Linked DNA regions of Homo sapiens: all the other regions are linked to region 1. The links are contacts of gene promoters, found by promoter capture Hi-C in human tissues and cell types (Jung and others, 2019). All regions are on one chromosome and are shown on one strand. Each heading gives the region's core, a stretch centred on a gene start or on the middle of the fragment in contact. The rest is flanking DNA. Distances are from core to core; before and after follow the strand shown. Region 1 holds the start of GRIN2B (glutamate ionotropic receptor NMDA type subunit 2B). Region 2 overlaps GRIN2B (glutamate ionotropic receptor NMDA type subunit 2B). Region 3 overlaps GRIN2B (glutamate ionotropic receptor NMDA type subunit 2B).

What was found. The method cuts DNA at HindIII sites, captures the fragments that hold promoters and counts their contacts. A contact is called where the count stands out against the background at its distance.
Region 2: a contact is called between a fragment that was not itself captured here and the fragment with the promoter of GRIN2B in region 1, in 2 of the 25 tissues and cell types used here (H1 embryonic stem cells and dorsolateral prefrontal cortex).
Region 3: a contact is called between a fragment that was not itself captured here and the fragment with the promoter of GRIN2B in region 1, in 2 of the 25 tissues and cell types used here (dorsolateral prefrontal cortex and mesendoderm cells).

Annotation. Positions count from the first base shown.
Region 1 is chr12:13,979,184-13,983,994 of GRCh38, reverse strand. It overlaps GRIN2B (glutamate ionotropic receptor NMDA type subunit 2B), which reads left to right and starts at 2,393. Exons shown (of 14, transcript NM_000834.5): 1 at 2,393-2,653; 2 at 3,639-4,067. The HindIII fragment of the contact is 12,156 bases long and covers 1-4,811 here.
Region 2 is chr12:13,739,111-13,743,921 of GRCh38, reverse strand. The region is part of intron 4 of GRIN2B (glutamate ionotropic receptor NMDA type subunit 2B); the gene reads left to right. Among named protein-coding and RNA genes, the nearest start is that of GRIN2B, 240 kb to the left of the region's middle. The HindIII fragment of the contact is 3,526 bases long and covers 106-3,631 here.
Region 3 is chr12:13,785,021-13,789,831 of GRCh38, reverse strand. All of the region lies in intron 3 of GRIN2B (glutamate ionotropic receptor NMDA type subunit 2B), which reads left to right. Among named protein-coding and RNA genes, the nearest start is that of GRIN2B, 190 kb to the left of the region's middle. The HindIII fragment of the contact is 4,112 bases long and covers 507-4,618 here.

The sequences.
Region 1 (4,811 bases), core at 1,144-3,643:
TTCAACATGAATAGCTACAGAGGTAATATTTTTCCCTATAGTGGGCCAGTACCTGGTTAATGAATGCAATAAGTTATCACCCAGTCAGTTTGATAACTGATCAAGCAAACTCTTCCATACATTGCTGAATACAGAAAATGAGAGTGGAGGGGATGGTGGTGAGGTGTCATCTCTCATTTCAAAATTCTTGCAATTTTTACAGAAATCAATTCAGGCTTGGTTGACTGAAAAATATCCCCAGAGGAGGTGGGACTTGAGCTGGAAACTGAAGAGGAGTGTGGACTCAATTAGGTGGAGGAAGTATGAGCGTTCATTCTTCCCTGTACACTTGGAAAAGTGAACAGGGTGGAATGGAATTGCAACAGGGTTCAGGTAGGGAGGAAAAGGAAAGAAAATAGGGAAGAATAGTATAATTTTGGTGAAGGGACTGAGGATAGGAAGGGGAACGTGGGCTATGAGCCAGAAATAAAAAATATAAAAATTTAAAAAGTAGATTCAAGGTCAACCCATGAAGATCCTTGAGTGAGCTTGGATGTTATTCTGAAGCTAATGGACCAGGTAACGGTAATTTTCCTGGAAAATTCAGGGAAGAGTGTTTCAGGAAATCTCTATTAGGTTCTTGCTTTCTGCATTCTATACTCCTCTTGGAATCGGCGTTCTAACAACTGCAAACCTGCCCATAGGCAGGTGAACTTGAAAACCCTGGAGACAAATTATTAGAGGGGCTTGGGTTGGCTGTTGTGTATCAAGAGGGCACAGCAACTCTGGGGTGCTTCGACACTTCCCCAAAGTAGTGAAAGATCAGTTCTAACTCTTAGAAAAATAGAAAACCATTACTGAGAAGGAATAATTTGCATGTGAACACACTCTATTTGTGTTTTCACACAATGCTTATGTGTTCGTGTGTGTTAAATATGTTAGATTCAAAAATTAAGCCTGAGAAAAACCAGGAAACAGAAGAATTACTGTAGCTCAGAAGTATGAGTAGTCTGGTCTACAGGACAGCAAAAACATATCTGATGGCTTCTACAGACTAAAGTTCCAAGCCACTAGGTATATCCACTCACACAGCCTTCTCTCCTGTGCGTTTGTATGGCCGCTTCTCAGGAATGCTGGTGAGAAGCCCATGATATAACCAATATGAAAATGTTCCACCACTGTAGTATTCTAGATATTTGAAAAGACAATGGATGAGAATGAAAATGATGCATATACAATAATATTAATGTTAAAAGTAAACAATACTACAGGTGGTGATAAGGGCTATTAAAATATAAAAGAGTTCAATAGGAAGAGAAATGAATGGATGTTTGCCTTTTCAAAGAGGGTGGGTTTGTAAATGCCAGGAAATCCAGTTTCCTTTAGGGATTATTCACGGGCCTCACCATCTTCTCTTCTCAAGGCATTTAAATAACAGGATCCACTTTAATAAAAAATGTCAAACTCCTCCCGCCTTCACTAGCAGCCAGAAAAGCACGCGTATGGTCCATACTATACAATTTAGCCACGAATGACACCTGCTTTGCTTTGTTTTCTATTGTGTTAGGCGTCAGCCTCGTGTGCTCAGATAGATCTTAAGCTCCTTGAAGGCAAGAAAGAACCCGGTCCCAGACTGCGTCCGACACACAGAATGCTCGTAGGAAGCACAGGCTGATTTATGGAAAATACAGCAAGGGTCTTCAATTTCGAACTACAGCTCCGCCTTGGAGATGCTTTCCGCAGCCCGCGGGCCGCCCACGGGGGGCACTGTCTAGCTCCCCTCGCCCCTCAGCCGCTCTCCGTCGGTGCTGTTCCCCGCTGCGGCCGGGAGGAGGCGCCACGGACTCGGGCTAAGCTTCTTCCCCCTTCCGTCCCCCTTCCATCCACCTTACCACCCCACTTCCCCAGCACATGACGTGGGAAGCTGCCTCCGCCAGAGTCTTAGCAAGAGGAGTGAGGGGGTGCAGGGGCTTGGGGGTGGGGTGGGGTGGGGGGTGTGGAGAAAGAGGACACGCGCGCTCACACCCGCCCCTGGGAGCAGAAGCAGTATCTTCCCCAGCTTCGTGGGTTTCTCCTCCCCCCGGAGTCAGGGTGTGCGAGGTAGGGGGTGTGTGTGTGTCTGTGTGTGTGTGCGCGGCACGTTTTTGAGTGTGAGACCCAAATCCAGACCAGGCAACCTGCGTTCCCCGCGCCTCCCCCCGTCCCCGGTGATTAATACCCATTTTTCTGACGCTCCCCTCCTCCCCTCCTGCTCTCCCTCTCCGGCTGCCGCGCGGTTGACTTGCACAGCCTGCCCCCGCCCGCTTCCCTTCCCCCGGCTCCGATCCTCACCAACTGGAATCTGGGCTCCTGCCTCTCCACCCCCCACCTCTTTTTGAGAAAGGAAGGTTCCCCCCACCCCCTTTCAAAAACCACTTCCTCCGGCTTCTTCACCTCTAGGAAATCTCGGGGCTTCGCTCTATCGAGAGTGCTCGTCAAGGGTGATTCTTGATCACCACCATCCAGTAGTGCTGGCGTCCGAATGCATATCCTTTTGCCTTGCAAAGAAGAGTCATGAACTTCAAAACCCCCGAGACGGATCATTAATCCTGCTTTGCAGGAAAGGAAAACCCTCCATTCCCAGCCACCGGCCACCCCTCTCCGCAGACTGCAACCGCGGAGGCGCTCGGAGCCGGTACGTAAAGATGGGCTTTGGAGTCTCTCCTTTGAATGTAGGGGTTTGGGGGTGTCAGGCAGATAAAGGGTCGAAGCCGTGAAATCGTGAACGAATCTGGCATGAGGTAAAGCTCTGAAATCCAGCAGAACCCGGCACTTGCTAATTTGGACGTGGCTTTTTTAAAGGTTTTTTTTTTTTGTGGGGGAGGGGGTGCTGTGACTGGGTAGGGCTGTCTCTGGTCTTTTGGGGGGTTTCATCCCTTCACCTAGCAGAGGGGCAGGGCAGCGGCGCCCCGGGCCGGACCCACGCGCCGAGCCCATCCGTCCAATCGACACGTTGCAGGTGAAGCCCCGTGCGCTGCACCTCAGCGCGGCGGCAGCGTGAGTGTGCGCGGGGGTGAGTGTGCGCGGGGGTGAGTGTGAGTGCGCGCGGGGCGCGTGCGCGTCGGGGGCGTGTGTGCGCGCGTCAGTGTGCCCCTTCCAAGAAATGCCCAGTGTGCACCCCGTGCACAATCAGAACCCATTCAGCACAAGCCCGGGGTGGGAGGCGGCGCTGCTGCTGGAGGCGATGGGGAGAGCGAGCGAGACAAGTCAGCAGCAATGCAGATGGGGCTGGGGGCCGCACTCGCTGGCGAGTTAAGTGGGAATTGTGTTTCTGCGTGTGTGTGAGTGTGTGTTGCTGTATGGTGCCGCTTCTCCCCCCCTTCCTCCTTCCTTCCCACTTCCCTCCTTCGCTCGCTCCCTCCCTCTCTCCTCTTCCATTCAGGTTGGCTTTCCCACCTCTCATCCGTGCCTGTCCCAGGAATGGTATAGCCAGACCTTTTCTGAATTATTTATAGACCGGTACCAGCTGTTTTCAATTCCTCTCGTGTGCACTCTGTGGGAAATGCGGGGTTTCCTCCCCCCTTTCCTTAAAACGAATTGATATCTTTTTCGGAATGCATTTTTCTCACCCTCCGGGGGACACGCGAATCAAGCCCTGACCGCCTCTTTTTCCCCCTTAGGAAGGGGACGCTTTGGGAATGACCATGCTCCACCGAGGGACGGAGCCGGCCCCCAGCTTCTCCACACAGAGCCTCCTCCACTAACGCTCCAAAAACCAAAAACCGTAATTGCCAGAAGAAGCGTTAAAAATCTATTCCAGCCACTAACCTCACATGCACACGGAATAATTACTCTGGATTCTGCATTGTGAGCTGCTCTCCATACCCTGAATTACCTTTGAATTAAATCTTTTTTTTTTTGAATTTGCATCTCTTCAAGACACAAGATTAAAACAAAATTTACGCTAAATTGGATTTTAAATTATCTTCCGTTCATTTATCCTTCGTCTTTCTTATGTGGATATGCAAGCGAGAAGAAGGGACTGGACATTCCCAACATGCTCACTCCCTTAATCTGTCCGTCTAGAGGTTTGGCTTCTACAAACCAAGGTAGGGCAAATTCTATTTTATTTTTTCCTCACCTGGGGTAGGGATTCCTCATTTTATCTATCTCTTCGAGTCCCTCAAGTGGATCTTTTTGGAAGAAAAGGTCACAAGATATGAAAATAATGCTGTTTTGGGAAAAAAGGCTTATTACAAAGAAGGAAATCTCCCATGTTTTTTCTTTTTCTTCTCTCATCTAACAGGTTTTGGGCTTTTGGGGGGCAGTGGGGGTGGATGTATGCAGGCACAAAAGATGTTGGATGGCATCAGGGGAATGTATCTATATCTATAGACATAGCCAGCCAGGAGACCTGTGTGATTTTCCAGTTAAATAGCATTTTATTCACCCAGAACTAAAGCTCCGATTTTTATGGGAATCTAGAAATCCTTTTTTTTTTTTTTTTTCAGGTTGGCTTTATTCCCCTTGTCACCTTCATGCCTCTCTCCCTGTCTCCTGTCTTTACCTTTCTAGGCATCCTTTCTATGCCCTTTAAAACAGATAAAAATAATGATTGAGATTACTGTGATTGTTGCCCTGAAATCCACTTGCTGTCTAAAGGGTTGACAAGGGGCCCAGAGATCCCGGGAGGCCTATTGCAGAGGGGTAGGTCTAGGTGGGGATCGGGCTGGTCTCAGAACACCTGGAATTGAAGGATGCTGCAGGTTAAACGACTTAAATCTTAAGCTCGGAAAGGAGGAATTCTGTCAATATTCTGCTTTTAATTTGTATTTTTTCCTGTGCTATTATTT
Region 2 (4,811 bases), core at 619-3,118, 240 kb after region 1:
TTTCCAAAAGAGATTATAGATGGGGTCCAGATGGAGGTAGGTGTCAAAATACATTTAGTGTTAGACAAAAAACCCAATTATCAAAAATTTCGTTGTTCATCATCATGGCTAATAATGATGATGATTAAAGTGAGGATTTTCATACAGATAATCTTCTTGTATATCGTCTCACTAAATCATTATAACAAACATGTGAAGGCTTCTTTTATTCACTGCAAGGATTGGCTGCGGACTTCAACAGAGAAACCTCACATACTTGCTTCCTTTTTGTTTTCTCAGAGGTATTTCCAGACACTCCCATTGACTTTCTTCCTCCCCTGCTTGAAAAAAAATCTTTCAGGCACTTTTGTTTAGGCAAAACAGCACAATAGAGCATTATTATATTACAGTTCACTATTACACAGATCTTAATAATGTGTCAAATTTCCCTCATTATTGACTATAGAGGACAAGGTGTGTGTGTGTATGTGTGTGCATATTAGAGACTATGACTCAAAATAGTGGACTCCACAGGCTGCACGGGGTCATTGTCCTCACTTCTGTCACACGTGCTCACATGTGTTCACATGGAGACTTGGCTTTTTTACCTAAAGGACAAGAGGTCACATATTCAACAACCTGATGTATCTAGAACATAACCAACAGTCATGAAGAAAGCAGAAAAGGGCTCTGAGCTAAAATCCCTGACACAAAACTCTTGCCCTAAAATGACTGCTGTTTCTTGTCATACAGAGTGTCGCTCAAAGCACGTTTACTCTAATTTTACACATACTTCTAAGAAGCTTGTGGGCAGTTGGGTTATCTATGGTGTGGAGTCCCAGTAACCCAGTTTAAATGAGATATGTGAGCATAGTTAGGTGGTCTGTCCAGAGCTGGGATGACAGCTGCATGTCATCAGGACTCAGATGCCTGCTAGCTTTCCACTCTTTCATCCACTGGGTATATCCTTCATCCCCATGCCTAAGATGGCTGCTGGAACTCCAGTTTCAAGCAGCAGATTGAAGTTAGAAAGGAAGGAAGGTAAATCATTTCCCTGTTTAGGAAATTCCCCTGAAGTTCCACACTTTGCTTATAGTCTGCTGGTTGGAAATCAGTCAATGGCCACACTAGCAACAAGCAAAATTGGGAAATATAGCTTAGTTTAGTTTTTAACCTGGGCAGTAATGTGCCCAGTTAAAAATCAAAGTTCTAAGCCGGGCACAGTGGCTCATGCCTATAATCCCAGCACTTTGGGAGGCCGAGGCAGGCAGATTACCGGAGGTCAGGGGGTTGAGACCAGCCTGGCCAACATGGTGAAACTCCATCTCTACTAAAAATACAAAAATTAACCAGGTGTGGTGGTGTACATCTGTAATCCTAGCTACTTGAGAGGCTGGGGTAAGAGAATCACTTGAACCTGGGAGGTGGAGGTTTCAGTGAGCCGAGATCATGCCACTGTACTCCAGCCTCGGCAACAGGGCGAGACTCTGTCTCAAAAACAAAAAAACAAAGTTCTGTTAACTAGTGAGAGAGGGCCAAGGCCATATCTTTGGTAGACAACTTTGAGATATTTGTTTATATGATTTCCTAGATAACAATAGCTTAGGTATAACAGACATGATGATGAGGATCAGATAGGCAAACCAACAGCATTAATAAATAACAGAATGGAAAAGAGTGGAAGATATTAGAAAAACCCAGCAGAAAACCTTGAAAAGCAGAGTTGTATAACACCATTTGGGGAGAAATGTCATCTACGCCCCAGAAAGCATATACCCTGCATAAAAATCCCTGTATAGCAAAAAAGCATAGTCATTGTTAAGTCATCAATAAGAGCTTAAATTATATCGATTATCTTAGGTATAAAAAGTCAGAGAACTCTGTAATGCCTTTCTGAAATTTTCCATTAAAATGCTTCCTATAATCAAGAAAAAGCCTGTACTTTAAAATACTAAGCTTCAGCAATTTAGAAAATTTATTTTTAAAAAAGATTATTGAGTGAATACTATGTGCCAAGGGCTTTATATAGCATAATTTAAGCTTAAAAGTATTGTACAGGGATATGATTGCCTCCAATTTTTAGATAAACTGAGATTGCCTGAGTGAGGTGGCTCACACCTGTAATTTCAGCACTTTGGGAGGCTGAGGCAGGTAGATCACTTGAGACCAGCTTGGGCAACATGGCAAAAACCCCGTCTTTATAAAATACAGAAATATTAAATTAGCCAGGCATGGTGGCATGCACCTGTAGTCCCAGCAACCTGGGAAGCTTAGGTGAGAATCACTTGGGCCCAGGAAGATAGAGGCTGCAGTGAGCCATGATCATGCCACTGCACTCCAGCCTGGGTGAAAGAGCAAGACCCTGTCTCAAAAAAATAAAACGAAAGCAACAACAAAAAACCCCAAACCCCCTGAGATCCAGAAAGATTAAGACTTTTGCTTACTTTGTGTTTCAAACTCAAATTTTTATGAATTCCAGGCGTACTTTGCCCCAGGTTATCCATCTTTCTATGTCCTTTGCTAAAGAGGTTGAGTGAATTAGGAATGACTCACATGTATATAAACATATCATTAACCTGTGGGACAGGGTGGTTTGGTAATAAAGAGTTTCCTGTCTGGGCGCGGTGGCTCACGCCTGTAATCCCAGCACTTTGGAAGGCCAAGGTGGGTGGATCATGAGGTCAGGAGTTCAAGAACAGCCTGGGCAAGATAGTGAAACCCTGTCTCTACTAAAAATACAAAAAAATTAGCCGGGCGTGGTGGCGGATGCCTGTAATCCCAGCTACTTGGGAGGCTGAGGCAGAGAATTGCTTGAACCCGGGAGGTGGAGGTTGCAGTGAGCTGAGATCACACCACTGCACTCACAGAGTGAGACTCCATCGCAATAAAATAAAATAAAATAAATAAATAGTTTACTTTCTTGGATTCTCTGCTATTTCTTGCCCTAAAGACTAGACCATGACACATCTAGAATCAGCCTGGGAGTGGCATCCAGGACACACATGGTAAAGACTTCCCACACTGAACCTGCTCATCTCACTCTCTGTCCTGAAGTGTGCCCATCTCTACTTGCTGGTCTTGCTCTGATCTTGCTGATACCTCCCTTTTCCTAATGGGAAGGAGGATTATTTTTTCTTATCCTATTCCCAAATCCTTTAACCCATAGAGGAAAAAACAACAACTTGTAGTCTTTGCATACCTGAAAAATCCTTGGAACTGAAGCGGGTGGAGACTTTCTGGTCTACAACCTGCCAAGGTTCAGGGAGATTACAGATGCATTGAAAATACTGTCAGGGACATGCAATAGAACAAAACAAGACCTTGGCCTCTGCCATGATTTACAAATGTCCTCCAGTACCACTATTCATTTTTGACAGGTCAGATAAATTTGGATTTGTTTAAGCCTTGTATTCAGCTGGAGATTGGAGAAAAGTTAAAAAAAAAAAAAAAGAAAATGCTATTAGAAATGAAAGAAACGGGACATGTGGGGCCCACTTTTCTGCACTTCACAAAATTACATTCATTCTTAATTCACTGAGTGACACATCCAGTAGGAATGTGGACCCCCTATTCTGTATGTACTGAACCCTGTGCCGGATGCCGGGAATACGGACAATACATAGCATTCATCTGATTGTCTTCACAAGGAGTGGAGTGTCCACAGATGCTTTTAGTTTGCTGTTTAGACTTATTTTTCTTGAAATATAAAGTGAATTGCCTAAAAGACTAGCAGAATGAGCTTCAGGAACGAAGAATTTCAGAATGTTAGTGAAAACCATCACGAATTTCCTGGTACCTCTGATCCAAGGCCATGGAGGATCCTTTCTGATAGAGACTAAGAGAGTGGAGTTCAGGAGAAAGGAACCATTCCAATATAGCTGATTCTAGTTTGATTCTCTAATCTCATTGTCTCAGTTTATTGGCCACCTGCAAACTCAAAACTTCATGAAAGAATATTCTTTAGGAATAGACCAGAGTCCCCTTCCCCCACGTGCATACACCCACACTTTGTGGGCTCACTCACTAAGTTTAAAAATAGGAACCATGGTGTTGCCATGACGCCCGGTGCTACTCAGCAGCGTTCCTTTTCCCTTTGATGTGATTCCTCTTCATAGCATGATTTAGTGAGAATCTGGCTCAGAGCGGCCTCTAGTGGCTCAATCCTTAGGGATGCGCTTCCTTCCCCAGCCCAGTTCCAAATTCAGCCCAGTTCCAAAATTAACCACCTTAGCCAAGTTGGACACTTGTGTGTTTAGAACCATTCTCCATGCAATCAGCTATTTTTTTTCAGAATCTTTCTCATCAGCCACAAGTATTACACCGGGGAGTACCTACTGAGTGCTCAGAAGTGTGCGGAACAGCCCAGGTATTCACCATCTCTCTGGCCAGGAGAGACCAGCATTACCCCAAACATTTGGTGAACAGTAGAGAGCAGTGGCAGGGAAGCTATGTGGTAGAGGCAGTAATGTTGAATAAAGTAATCCCAGTAAAATAGGTTGGTTAGGATCATCAGAAGTTAGCTTTTTTTTTCCTTTTCTTCTTTTTTTTTTTTTTTTTTTTTTTTTTTTGAGACGGAGTTTCACTCTTGTTGCCCAGGCTGGAGTGCAATGGTGCAATCTCAGCTCACCACAACCTCCGCCTCCTAGGTTCAGCGATTCTCCTGCCTCAGCCTCCCAAGTAGCTGGGTAGCATGCACCACCATGCCCGACTAATTTTGTATTTTTAGTAGAGACAGGGTTTTTCCATGTTGGTTAGGCTGGTCTCGAACTCCTGACCTCAGGTGATCTGCCTGTCTTGGCCTCCCAAAGTGCTGGGATTACAGGCGTGAGCCA
Region 3 (4,811 bases), core at 1,313-3,812, 190 kb after region 1:
CTTCTGGGTGATAGTAACAGCAAGTTAATTTCAATTGATATCAGTGGTTATGGGGGACTCTGCAAGACATTCTATTTAATTAGGTTTTCTTAAAAAAATAGCAAGTAACATATATTGAGCACTTACTTATACTCCTCACTTTACCCAACTCTGATGCATAGCCCTGAATCGCTTAATCCTTCCAACAATTCTTACATGAGCATAATTATTATCACCAGTTTATAGCTGAAAAAACTAAGGCTAGTAGTGCTTAGATAATTTCTCCAAATATTCAGAGCGACTAAAAAAAAACTGATCTTGGACTGACAGTTCTTACACTAGGGTATTTGCCATCAAAATAGTCTTCCTTTTAGGGTCTCTTGTGATTTAAGGAAAACTTGCCCAGGGGATGCAGGGGAGTGGGGCATCCTAAACTAGAAACATCCTTTTCCCTCATCCAAGTCCTTTAAGCTGCAGCCATCTTCTGAAACCTTTTTGCTGGAATGTGGAAGGCACATGCACTTAGTTTAATGGTAACATGCTTTTGCAGTTATTGCCTCTTAAGATCTCAGTTGTTAATGGGATACCATTATTGCACCGTTGCCAGTGGTTTTTCATTTTATTCTGATACTCTGGCATGGATCCTACAGAGGCTGTTGTTGAATATAAGAGTTTATAACCTCTGACATGCAAGTCTATGGATAAAACATGATTTGACTGTTTTAAAAACATTCTCTCTTGTTTAATGAGGTTTTTAAGTGTGTATAGGAAAAAAAACAACAACCAGGACTCTTTAAGAAGCCTTTGGCAAGAAGCTCCAGAGGTTTAGCTAGAGCTGACTTGAAATGTGGTGACCAGCCATTAATCGGATGGTCAGCAAATTAAGTGAGTTCGACATTTGCCGGAGCTTTGTATCTCCATTGCCAGTTTCATGTTCCACTTGCTTGCAGTCAGCCAGTGCAGAGGGAAGGTAATGATGCTCAGGCCAAGGCAGGTCTTCCTTGGAGAAAAAGGGAAGTGGTCTCTCCTAGCAGCAAAGATAGTTCTAGCAAAGTCCCCAGAGTTCAAAGGGAGATGCTTGGGCTGAAACTTAACACCTTCCCTCAGCAAAACAATCATTTTGGCTGCAAGCAGGTTTAACTGTCACATGAAACATCAATACACAGAAATTAAGGGTTCCTCGAAAAGGAAAGAAGGGAAACCAAAGTTTATATAAGAGGCACGTGAAATTGTTTTCCCAGTGGGCACCAGGTGATTTCTGTGTCTAAGTAACAGGAAACCACTTAATTTTTCCTTCCCTTGGTAACCTCATTTTTAAAACGAGGTTGGGTGGCTGACTTCCAAGGCTCTCTTGTGAGCAAGCATTCTATGGTTCTAGCAAATGCTTGGTAAGAGTTGAATATATTAATAAGGTCTTTATGCCTAGATTTTTATAATTTTTCTCTGATTGACAGTATCAGTAATGGTTATAATCAGTAGAAATGAGAGAAATGTGTTATTTTAATGGTTATATTTGCTGGAAACTTAGTCCATTCTGTTGAATACTATATGTGTTCCCTATAGTGGCCCTTCTAATGTTCTGAGAGTCCAGTTCTGTCCCCGCAATTCAACATCTTTTCTTTGGAACAAAGTGGAAAGCTTCATCACACATAATCTCTCTTCTAATATCTACCTGACTTTGGGAGAAAAATTATATATTTAGACCTCTCCCACTTGAGCCTCCCTCTACCTGCCACATAAGCTATTCAGATGGAACCTGATATTTTATCCTTCCTTCCTCTTCCCTTGCCTCTGAGATGACAGGATATCAGTCCCAAAAGGTCTTAAGGTTCACGAGGGCTCCATTGGCTTATGCCCCAGAGAGGCGTGGGGCTGCTATGAAGAATCTTCCTGGTGTATTTGAGATAAGTTGGTATTTGCAGGCTGGTCTGGGGTTGCAATCCCCATTTATTACATTGGATCAATGGGAGAATGCTTTTGGATTTCTAAATAACTAGCTTAAGGATGAATTTTTGGAATGTGATGTATTTATGGATTGGGGATTGATCAGCCTAATCAGTGAGATGAAGAAGTTGGGATCTTTATTCTTAAAAATGTAGGTTCCATGAAAGATGGCTCCCACTGGCCTAAATTGTATCTTCACAATTGTCTCTGAGTTTGTTACATGGATTGGAATCTTAGTTACAGGCTTAAACGACCATAATAGGATGTATGAAATCCTTAGATAATTTGCATATTTTCTGAACACTTAAATTCCTTGCTTTTTTTCTTCCGCCCATGAGATCTTTTTCTAGCTGAATTGGCAAATCTTTGTGTTTCAGTTCTCTGGTACGGCTTGCCCTTTTGCAGAAGTGCTAATAAGCTATAACATTGCACAGGGAGAGGCGCTGGGGGTTAAGTCACCTGAAATAATGCAGATGTTTCTGGCAGGTATAGTCCTAGAATTTGAATAGTACTTTTTCTATTTCAGACCATTGGTAGCAGCCAAGTCCCATTGTACTTGCCATTTCCTTTCTGTCTCCTAGACTATATGAAATAGAATCTTCACCTTTTCTGATGATACGTGTCCGATAAGCAATGAATGGCTGAAGAGTTGGGGAATTCCACTGAAGTTCATCTTCTTTTATGCAGGGGCTTCTCATAGACTTAAGACAGCTTTTCAAATAATATTCAGTGGCCACTTCTCCTAGCCTAGGTTAGACATGATCCTGCATTTCATCTAGTTAACAGTTATGCCTATTTTAATAGGCCTTAAGAAAAAACAATTTTAAAAAGATATTTCTTAGATGAATTGTGGTTTTGGGAGGTAGAAGCTGAACAGAAAGCAGCAGGTAAGAACTGTCTATCAAAGGTTCCTTGGAGGAGGTGGATCGTGCTACATACTTTTTTTTTTTCTCCTTTGAAGCCTGTATTTATTGTCCCTCCTTTGTGCAGAGTCTCAAACCGGGAGGACTAGGCACTCTTGAACGGGCCCTTTTACCTGCTCCCTCCCAGCCCCCACCTGCAGCGCAGCCTGCATGGACAAAGAAAGGGAGTGGACAACAGGCACAGCGGCAAAACAAGCTGTGTCAGTTTCCCTTTCTTCCCCTTTGAGTTTGTAAAAGAGCTATTTCCAAGCTTACATGGTTCACCTGGGTTTCAATTCAATCAGGGATTTTTTCTTTTCCTTTTTTTTTTCCCCTCAGCCCTGATACCTGTGGGAAAAATCTGGTATATTCCTGGTTCACCAGGCCTTTCTCAGCCCCTAGCCTCCGGACCCTGATCACCACGGCCAATGGCAGGTCTGCTTTCTTAAGTATGTAAGTGTGTCCGCCAGGACTCAGGACTGCCTTGGTTGACATTTTATGTAATTAAAATGGCGTGCAGTTCTTGAAAAGCAAATAAGTTCAGCTATGTGGCACTCTTTGAGAGACAAGTGCATAAAGTAGGATAGAATGAGAATGAGATTAACATGTTTAAGGCATCGGTGGTCCCAGCAAAATTGAATACAATTGGGTATATAGGACATTTAGTTCAGTTGTATATTAACAGGGTTACTGGGTGGAATTTTTCTGACATTTGAATCAAATTAAACCCCAAATTATTTTAATTTGGTTTTAGGCTTAATTTCTCCCTCTAGCCTTGGGACCCTTTGCTGAATAACTATGGATGATTAAAGCAGTAGGAGAAAATGAAATGTACCTGCTTAGTTTAGTCGAGGCGTTCTTTACTGAAAAAGTGGGCAAAGGCAAAACTCTCAAGCTTTACTGGAGAGACCAGTCAGCAATTATCCTTTCCTGGGCAGCAGAAAATTAGCATAAGATTGAGGGAATCAAAATATTTTGATTCATGATGTAGTACTGCTGGTGACTCTGTGACCTTGGGCAAGTCATTTAACTACTTTGTGGCCTAGTTTAGTTTATTTCCATAAATATGGAAAGTTCAAATGAAAACATTACTTAACACAGCACACTGGCTCCTAGAGTCTTAGATTCAAATTTTAGCTCTGCCTCTTAGTAGATATTTGACAACGGATTAACATTTTGAGTCTCAGTTGCCCATATATTACATATGGAAAATAGTAATCATAACTATTTTGTTATCTGTTGCTATATTTGTTACATCACAAGATTGATGTGATGATTAAAAGAGAATGCACATAGAGTGCTTAGCAGAGTGATAGCTCATAGTACACACTTAATATTGTCGTTGGTGTTATTACATTCTTTTCATTACATGAAGATACAGTGGAGAATTAGGATACCTTTTTAGAATTGGAGGCTTTGAATGAGACTTTGGTGAGTGATTGCAAGCACATGAAACAAGCTGAATAAAAATATGAAGGTGAGAGAGTAGGAGACATGCTTGGTAAAGGGTGGAGGCAGACTGGGGTGGCTGGGACATAAGGCATGTGGGAGTTGTGGTGTGAGACCAGCCTGGAAAAGGGTGTTTGGGCAAAAATGTCAGAGATGGAATTGGCCATCTGAGTAGTTCACACTTCATTCTGTACGTGATAGGAAAGGTCTAAACTTTTTAAGGAGGGGAGTGATATGATCACACCCATGTTTTATCAAGATAACCCTTACATATTATGCAGATGGGGTTAAAACAAGGATGGATGCCAGGGGAACATCTAGGGACTGATTTTAATGGAAAAATTAAGAAATAAATGAGGAATTTATTAAGTAGTAGCAAGTAGTGGGAACAGGGAAATGACACATGCAGACATGTTATAATTGAATTAATGATAAGGATTCCTTTGGCTTTTTCTTTTGAATTGAATTGCGAAGCTAAAACAGATCATAAACATTTAAAAACAAGGTTAGTAATGAAGAACATAAAACATAAAAGCA